3 separate regions of the Homo sapiens genome follow, and all the other regions are linked to region 3. Evidence: promoter capture Hi-C in 16 types of primary human blood cells and fetal thymus (Javierre and others, 2016). All regions are on one chromosome and are shown on one strand. The core of a region is centred on a gene start or on the middle of the fragment in contact, and the rest is flanking DNA. Distances in the headings are between cores, read along the strand shown. Region 1 overlaps CHST6 (carbohydrate sulfotransferase 6). Region 2 overlaps TMEM170A (transmembrane protein 170A). Region 3 holds the start of GLG1 (golgi glycoprotein 1).

Region 1 (2,714 bases), core at 162-2,661, 870 kb before region 3:
TGCTGTGGGGGTGACTGCATTGACCACTGTTAGTGGTTTGCTGTGTTGACACTCTGTGCTGTGTGACCATGGCTCCTGCCATCAAGAAGTAGAGTCTGTTTCTCCACCTCTGAATCCAGGCTGGTCCTGTGACTTGCTTTGTCCTGTAGACAAGTGTAGTGCAACTTCCTGTGAGCCAGTTTGAAGCATAGGCCTTGGAAGCAAAACTTTACCTCCACCTGTCTTAGGTTTTCAGCTGGGGCTCTGCTGTGATTTGATTGTGTCTCCCAAAGTTGGAACCTTGATCCCCAGTGTTGTGAGGTGAGGCTTGATGGAAAGTAAATTACGCCGTGCGGGTTATGCCCTTGTGAATGGGTAGAGAACATTATTTCTGGGCGCAGGCATGGTAGCTCATGTCTGTAATCCCAGCATTTTGGGAGGTTGAGGTGTGCGGATTACTTGAGGTCAGGAGTTTGAGACCAGCCTGGCCAACAAGGTAAAACACCATTTCTAGTTAAAATACAAAAATTAGCCAGGTGTGGTGGCACATGCCTGTAAGGCCAGCTACTTGGGAGGCTGAGACAGGAGAATCGCTTGAACCCAGGAGGCAGAGATTGCAGTGAGCTGAGATCGCACCACTGTACTCCAGCCTGGGCAACAAAGCGAGAGTCTGTCTTAAAAAAAACCACCATTATTTCAGGAGTGAGTTGGTTATCCTGAGAGTGGTGCCTTTTAAATGAAGGAGTTCATTCTTTGTCTTTCTCTCGCCCTCACTTTGCCCTTCTGCCATATGATGCCTTCCATCATGCTAGGACACAGCAAGAAGGCTCTCGCTAGATGCTGGCTCCTTGATCTTGGGCTTCCCAGCCTCCAGAACTGTAAGCCAATACACTTCTATTTATTATATATGACCCTTGCTGGGTTCAGTGGCTCACGCCTGTAATCCCAATACTTTGCAAGGCTGAGGCAGGAGGATCACTTGAGACCAGGCACTCAAGACCAGCCTGGGCAACATAGTGAGACCCCATCTCTACAAAGTTAAAAAAAAATTAGCAGGGCATGGTGTCGTGCACCTGTAGTCCTAGCTACTTGGGAGGCTGAGTTGGGAGGACTGCTTGACCCTGGGAGGTTGAGGCTACATTGAACCATGATCATGCCAGTGCACTCCAGCCTGAGTGACAGAGCAAGACACCTATCTCTAAATAAATGACCCCATCTGTGGTATTGTTATAGCAAAACAAAACAGATTAAGAGAGACTTTTTAATGAAAAGACAGATTCACAAAGAAAAACAATGTTTTTGTTTCTGTTTTTTTGAGGCAGAGTCTTGCTCTTGTCCCCCAGGCTGGAGTGCAGTGGCGCCATCTTGGCTCACTGCAACCTCCGCCTCCCAGTTTCAAGCGATTCTCCTGCCTCAGCCTCCCGAGTAGCTGGGATTACAGATGTACACCACCACGCCCGGCTAATTTTTTTTGTATTTTTAGTAGAGATGGGGTTTCACCATGTCGATCAGGCTGGGCTGGAACTCCTGACCTCAGGTGATCCACCTGCCTTGGCCTCCCAATGTGCTAGGATTACAGGCATGAGCCACTGTACCTGGCGAAAAACAGTTTGTTAACACAGGCAGCCAACATCACTCAGGATAAGCCTCAATGAAAAGTAACAAAGTGATGGCTTGGAACACTGTCTTACACAGCATTTTTAAAAAATACAATAAATTTGTAGAGATAGGATGACCAAGGACAACAGTTTTAGGCTTCCAAAGGTGGTAAACTATGGGATGGTAAATATCCGAGAGGAAGCTGATGCAACAGGATTTGTCTGCAGCAGCCTCTGGTACCACCTCTGAGTCAAGGGTTGTGTCCAGTGATGGAGAGTTTATATCGTGCCTTTAGGCAGAAAAGGGGAGGGAAACCTGAACTTTTCCTGCACTTTCTGCTTCTTAATTGCCTTCAGCTGAAAATCATTTTTTATGTGAAAAAGGCATAGTCTGAGCTGACGCCTCTGCTTTCCTCCACCTGAAGAGAACCTGCGTGCTGCTCCTTTGCTTCGGACCTCCGCCTCTGCCCGGGAGAAAGCCCAGGCCAGCCTGCTGGACAAGCAGAGACCATGAGAAGGAGAGTTCAGGGGTCCCAAACCAGGCCATCCTAGACCAGCCAGCTCCAGCTGATCCGCACGCAGCCACTTCGGCTACCTTCTACTGGCCAAAGGGAGTCCCAGGGCTCACCCAGATTCAGAGGTGGGGAAACTGAGTCCACCACTTGAGAAGAGTAGCTATAAAGACATATGAGCGAGGCCAGCTGAGCCCAGCACTGCGGCCAAGTCGAAGACTTTAGGAGCAATAAAAGTGCTTATTGTGTTTCAGTCATTTGAGTGTTGTGGTGGTTTGTTACGTAGCATTGCCTAACCGATACACTTGAGAACGGAGGGCTCCTGGCACCTGCAGCTTCCAATTTCCACCAGGGTCCAGGCTCCCTCCCTGCTGGTAGGGCTGTAATTAGTGTCTCCCCTTACCTGTAGGCCCTGTGATGCAGCTAGAAGTGTCTAGGCCCAGCAGTCACCCACAATTAGGGGCAGGCACGCTTGCTGCCTCTGCTCTGGCTGTGGGAGCTCAGAAGGGGCAATCAAAGCACTAGATGGGCTGATGGGTGCATAGAAACAGTGTTGCCTGGAATAGGTCAGAGAACCCACCTATCAAGAGGCTGTTGGGGAATCAATGGTGGGCCTTATTTTTGT
Region 2 (2,712 bases), core at 20-2,519, 850 kb before region 3:
TAAAATTGTTGCAGCAAGGGCCATGCACATTTGACTTCCAAATTACCCTGCAAAAAGGTGGTTTTCCAGTTTGTATTCCAACTAGGAGTGTCAGGTGGGGCCTGTGGAATAATGTCATGACAACCGTTACTGCTCAAAACCTATACTGGCACTTTAGATCTTTTGTGAAGTCCTTAGTCTGGTGTCAAATTCCCCAAAGGGTTTCCCTCATCTGTCTTTATAGCTTTAACTGTCATTGCTCTTTTATTTTTTTGAGACGGAGTGTCATTCTGTCTCCCAGGCTGGAGTGCAGTGGTGTGATCTGAGCTCACTGCAACCTCTGCCTCCTGGGTTCAAGCGATTCTCCTGCCTCAGCCTCCCAAGTAGCTGGGACTACAGGTGCCTGCCACCATGCCCGGCTAATTTTGTGTGTGTGTGTATGTGTGTGTATTTTTAGAGAGACAGGGTTTCACTATGTTGGCCAGGCTGGTCTTGAACTCCTGACCTCGTGATTAGCCCACCTCGACCTCCCAAAGTGGTGGGATTACAGGTGTGAGCTACCACGCCCGGCCATCATGGCTCTTATAAAGCCTCTGTGCTTTGGTAAAGCCCGTGGTTTTTAATCAGGGTAGTTTTGCCCCCTTGGGGACATTTGACAATGTCTGGAAATATTTTTGGTTGACACAACTGGGAATAGAGTGCTGCAGGCCAGAGGTGCCTCTCCATATCCTGCAGTGCACAGTGCAGCCCCCACAATGAAAAGTTATCTGGTCCAAATGTCAATAGGGCGGAGGGCGGTGGTCAAGAAACCCTGCTGAGCTAAGCTCTTCACTGATCTCAAAAATCACTTGCTACTTACCTGCCTCTAGCCAAGGATGGACAGTGGGTTTTATCTAATGTGTCACCGCCAGTCCCTCCCTGTGGGTAGCTGGAGAGCTACCTTGAGGATTCTAAGGCCTTGCCTTGGGTTCACTGGGGGGAAATGCTACATGGGCCATTTAACAAATTGTAAAGTCACATTCCAGCAGGATGGTTTTGTTTTCTTTATATGGGTGCCTCATGCATAGTTTTTCATACATAGTTGATGATTATATGTATCTTAATGTTGCCTGAGTTACAGACACCTTAAGAGTGATTAGAGTTCTGTAGGAGCCAGCTCTCCTAACCTGCACTGTTGTTTACCTGCCATTTGTCTTCAAGCCAAACATTTATATTTTCTGGTATTTATTTCATATCCTAAAGAGCTTTGAAATCCTAATAGGAGGTGATGGCTTGATATTTACTGCATTGTCTTTCAAATGATTGTGGAATGAATATAATTGTATAGCTGTCCATTTTAGAAGACTGAGTGATCAAAAGGTCAGGAAAGATCAACAGGCATTGATTGCATAGTACCGTATCAATTGGCTCTTTGGCTTGTGCCTCTTATGGGGGAATTATTTTTGTTTGGGTTTTTTGGTTTTTGGGGGAGTTTTTTGAGACCGTCTCACCCTGTTGCCCAGGCAGGAGTGCAGTAGCATGATCTTGACTTACTGCAACCTCTGCCTCCCAGGCTCAAGCAATCCTCCCACCTCAGCCTCTCGAGTAGCTAGGACTACAGGTATGCAATACCATGCCAGGCTAATTTTTGTATTTTTTGTAGAGACAGGGTTTCGCTGTATTGCCCAAGCTAGTCTCAAACTCCTGGGCTCAAGCGACCTGCCCACCTTGGCCACCTGAAGTGTTGGGATTACAGTCGTGAGCTGCCGTGCCCAGTTATGGTCGGGGACATTATTTAGGTCAATTTTGAAATCTAGATGAACCTTTTTTTTCAGTTTGAGGGTACAGAGATTGGTCAGCTTTTTCTGTGAAGGGCCAGATAGTAAATATGTTAGGCTTTATGGGTCATGTGGTCTGTGTCACTGTTATCAGCTTTGCCCTTGAAGCTGGAAGGCAGCCATAAACAATACTTAAATGAAAGGGCATGGGTTGAATAAGTATGTGTGTGCAAAACTCTTGTAAATGGTTTCAGATAAGTGTGTATGTATAAAAGTATTATGAATGGGTTCAGATAAGTGTGTAAAAAACAGGTGGTGGGTCTGTAGGCAGTAATTTGTTGAACACACTAAAACCGTCAATATTTGGATATTTGACTGATGAACCCTACTTTGCAAGTAAATGATGTTGAAGGCCGGGTGCGGTGGCCTCACACCTGTAATCCCTGCCCTTTAGGAGGCCAAGTTGGGCGGATTGTTTGAGCCGAGGCATTCAAGACCAGCCTGGGCAACACGGTGAGACCCCATCTCTAAAGAAAATACAGGCCAAGCGCAGTGGCTCATGCCTGTTATCCTAGCACTTTGGGAGGCCAAGGCGGGCAGATCACCTGAGGTTGGGAGTTTGAGACCAGCCTGGCGAAACTCCCACTGCACTCCATCCTGGGCAACAGAGTAGTGAGACCCTGTCTCATAAAAAAAGAAAATTAAAAAAAAAAGAATTTTGCCAGGCGTGGTAGCACACATCTGTAGTTCCAGCCACTCCGGAGGCTGAGGCGGGAGAACACCCAGACCTAGGAGGTCAAGGCTGCAGTGAGCCATGATGGTGCCATTGCACTGCAGCCTGGGTGACGGAGTGAGACCCCGTCTTTAAAAATAAAAATTTTTGACTGGGCGCGGTGGCTCACGCCTGTAATCCCAGCACTTGGGAGGCCGAGGCGGGCGGATCATGAGGTCAGGAGATCGAGACCATCCTGGTTAA
Region 3 (2,700 bases), core at 31-2,530:
TCTCAGGAGCTCCTTTTGGGTTCCCTGAGCTCCTGACTTTTCAGGTTCTAGTTATGTCTAACTTGGTCTTGACTGCTCATTTGCGGGTCAGGACAGCAGAAGCTGTCTGTTTACTACAGTAGATGTAATTCGCATTTTTGGACACAATGACCAGTGGAGATTACACAACCCAAACTGCCCTCATTCCCCAACATGTGCATGGACAGAGTGGGATGAAAGTGCGCCAGGGTGGTGGGAAGCCCCAGGGATTCTGGTGGCTAGCCTAGCTGTCTACAGGATGGCAGAGTTCCTCTTGGGCAGCTCATTTAATCCCTCCACGCAGAACTGTTAACATCTCTGTGCCATTCTTCAGTTAAATGAGAACCTAACGCAGGCCTGATGCATGGCTCAGATTACACAGCGGATGTGAAGAGGCTTTGGGAACATATCCTCTCTCCTAAGGACAGGGAGGGGATGCTAGTGTGGGGTGCCTGCGGTGTTGCATGCAGGTCAATGAGAACAGTTACCGACACACAGACTTAACCCGAGTCCTCAAAGATGTGTTTTATTATTATTTTTTCATCCTTTAAACATGAATCTAAATGCTGGCTTAAAATCAGGATTCATGCATAAACGGCTTCCCAGTTTATTAACAATACTGGCTGTGACTTTTTGAGTTCAGTGTTGTGGGCCAGGCACTTAAATTATTATTTCGAATCTTGCCAATGGTACTTTACATTTGAGCTCTTGCGTACCCTGCCAGAGCAAGGATTATAACCTTAATTTTTTTTCTTACCCCAGAACTTATGCTCTTAACCCTATTCAATGCTGTCTCTCTCTTTGGCTAAGAAAGACTTCTGAGGCAGATGGAAGGAAGGAAGGAAGGAGGGAGCGATACAAGGAGAGGCTTTCCGATTCCGTAATACACCTGGTTGTGCAAAGTTCACCTCTACATATAAAGTTTTTGTTTTCCAAGTCATTGAACCGGCGACATATTCTACCGGCCATTTTGGTTGTGGCAACCCCAATTCCCTTGATTTTTTTTTTTGTGACAGCAAATGGAATTAGAGTAGGCCGCCCTGCCCGGGCTTTTTAAGAAACCCCAGCAACCCCCCCGGGTAAGGAGCGCCGCTCTCCCGCCCGCCGGTCCAGGGTGTGTGCGGTTTCCAGCACGGCCTCCTCCTTCGCCCCACTCTGGGTTCGCGGGTCGGCGCCGGCGGGGCGGGGCTCGGCAGGGCCACGCTGCCACGCCCAGCGTCTCCACCCCCTCATTTAAATACGCGGCGCCGGCGAGTGCGTCGAGCTCGCCGCGGACTCAAGATGGCGGCGTGTGGACGTGTACGGAGGATGTTCCGCTTGTCGGCGGCGCTGCATCTGCTGCTGCTATTCGCGGCCGGGGCCGAGAAACTCCCCGGCCAGGGCGTCCACAGCCAGGGCCAGGGTCCCGGGGCCAACTTTGTGTCCTTCGTAGGGCAGGCCGGAGGCGGCGGCCCGGCGGGTCAGCAGCTGCCCCAGCTGCCTCAGTCATCGCAGCTTCAGCAGCAACAGCAGCAGCAGCAACAGCAACAGCAGCCTCAGCCGCCGCAGCCGCCTTTCCCGGCGGGTGGGCCTCCGGCCCGGCGGGGAGGAGCGGGGGCTGGTGGGGGCTGGAAGCTGGCGGAGGAAGAGTCCTGCAGGGAGGACGTGACCCGCGTGTGCCCTAAGCACACCTGGAGCAACAACCTGGCGGTGCTCGAGTGCCTGCAGGATGTGAGGGAGGTGAGGAGGTGGGACGAAGCCGGGAGGGCCAGGCCTGGTGCGGGCCCGAGGGTGTTGCCGGCCTTGGAAGCCGCTGACGCCGGTCGGCTGCTTTCCTTGCTTCCTCTGTGCTGCACTCGCTCCTTCCCTCTTTGCTCCTCACTCCCAGGCGCTTTCAGGGAAAAGGATACCACTCCCACTCCTTCTTTCCCCCGCCCTTATTTCCCTCCCTGTTGCCGGGGTCTGGGACGAAAACCTGGGCTCCTGGCCGCAATCCGCCGAGGCCCAGAGCGTGTCTGTTCGCTCCTGTCTTTTGTGTGATGCTCTATGCAGAGTGTCTCCTCGCCGAAGATCAGTTTAGGATTTTGCCATCAGTTTCGACTAGGACAATTTGTGGCAAGCCATTTAAACATAAAAAAATGCCTGGCGTACTTAGGCTGTAAAGAATGATCTGTTTATTAGCAGTAGATGTAATTCGCAAATCCATATTTTTGGTGCTGAAATTAATGTATGCTTTGTTTTCTTCACTTCCTTTGGTCAGTTGTATTGAACCCCATGTTTAAGCTGTTAACTCCCAGTGACTTGGCGCCCCAAAGCTTGAAAAGTTGGGGAAGCGTTTGAAGCTGTGTTTGTGACTGGGTTATGGGATCTTGCCTTTCTGAGGTCTGAATGTGATTTTAACAGTATCTCTTAATGAAATCTACATTTGTCGTTGCTTGGTGTGATTCAGTTGAGTGACATTGATAATTTATAATCAAGTGACATTGATAATTTATAATCTAGGTTTAATGCTGCAGACCATAATGACAATTCTCAAAGTTTGGGAGCAAATCTGACAGTAGTAACTTTTTCCAGAGGTGTAGGTATATAAAATTAGCCCTAAAGGTGGACAAATAGAATGAAGCTACCACTTGATACTGTTTTTGGTTTTTTTTTTAAATATCAGATTTGTTTAAGGCGTTCAAGCTATAGCAAGACCACTTG

What was found. The method cuts DNA at HindIII sites, captures the fragments that hold promoters and counts their contacts. A CHiCAGO score of 5 or more calls a contact.
Region 1: a contact is called between a fragment that was not itself captured here and the fragment with the promoter of GLG1 in region 3, in 1 of 17 cell types (neutrophils). The highest score is 6.9, in neutrophils.
Region 2: a fragment that was not itself captured here is called in contact with the fragment with the promoter of GLG1 in region 3 in 1 of 17 cell types (activated CD4 T cells); the score reaches 7.3 in activated CD4 T cells.

What each region holds. Positions count from the first base shown.
Region 1 is chr16:75,472,756-75,475,469 of GRCh38, reverse strand. It overlaps CHST6 (carbohydrate sulfotransferase 6), which reads left to right. Exons shown (of 3, transcript NM_021615.5): 3 at 1-2,714. Among named protein-coding and RNA genes, the nearest start is that of TMEM170A, 9.4 kb to the right of the region's middle. The HindIII fragment of the contact is 3,555 bases long and covers 1-2,714 here.
Region 2 is chr16:75,452,176-75,454,887 of GRCh38, reverse strand. All of the region lies in intron 1 of TMEM170A (transmembrane protein 170A), which reads left to right. Among named protein-coding and RNA genes, the nearest start is that of TMEM170A, 11 kb to the left of the region's middle. The HindIII fragment of the contact is 4,371 bases long and covers 1-2,712 here.
Region 3 is chr16:74,605,694-74,608,393 of GRCh38, reverse strand. It overlaps GLG1 (golgi glycoprotein 1), which reads left to right and starts at 1,280. Exons shown (of 26, transcript NM_001145667.2): 1 at 1,280-1,737. The coding sequence starts at 1,300. RefSeq lists silencers at 1,110-1,299, 1,530-1,709. The HindIII fragment of the contact is 13,128 bases long and covers 1-2,314 here.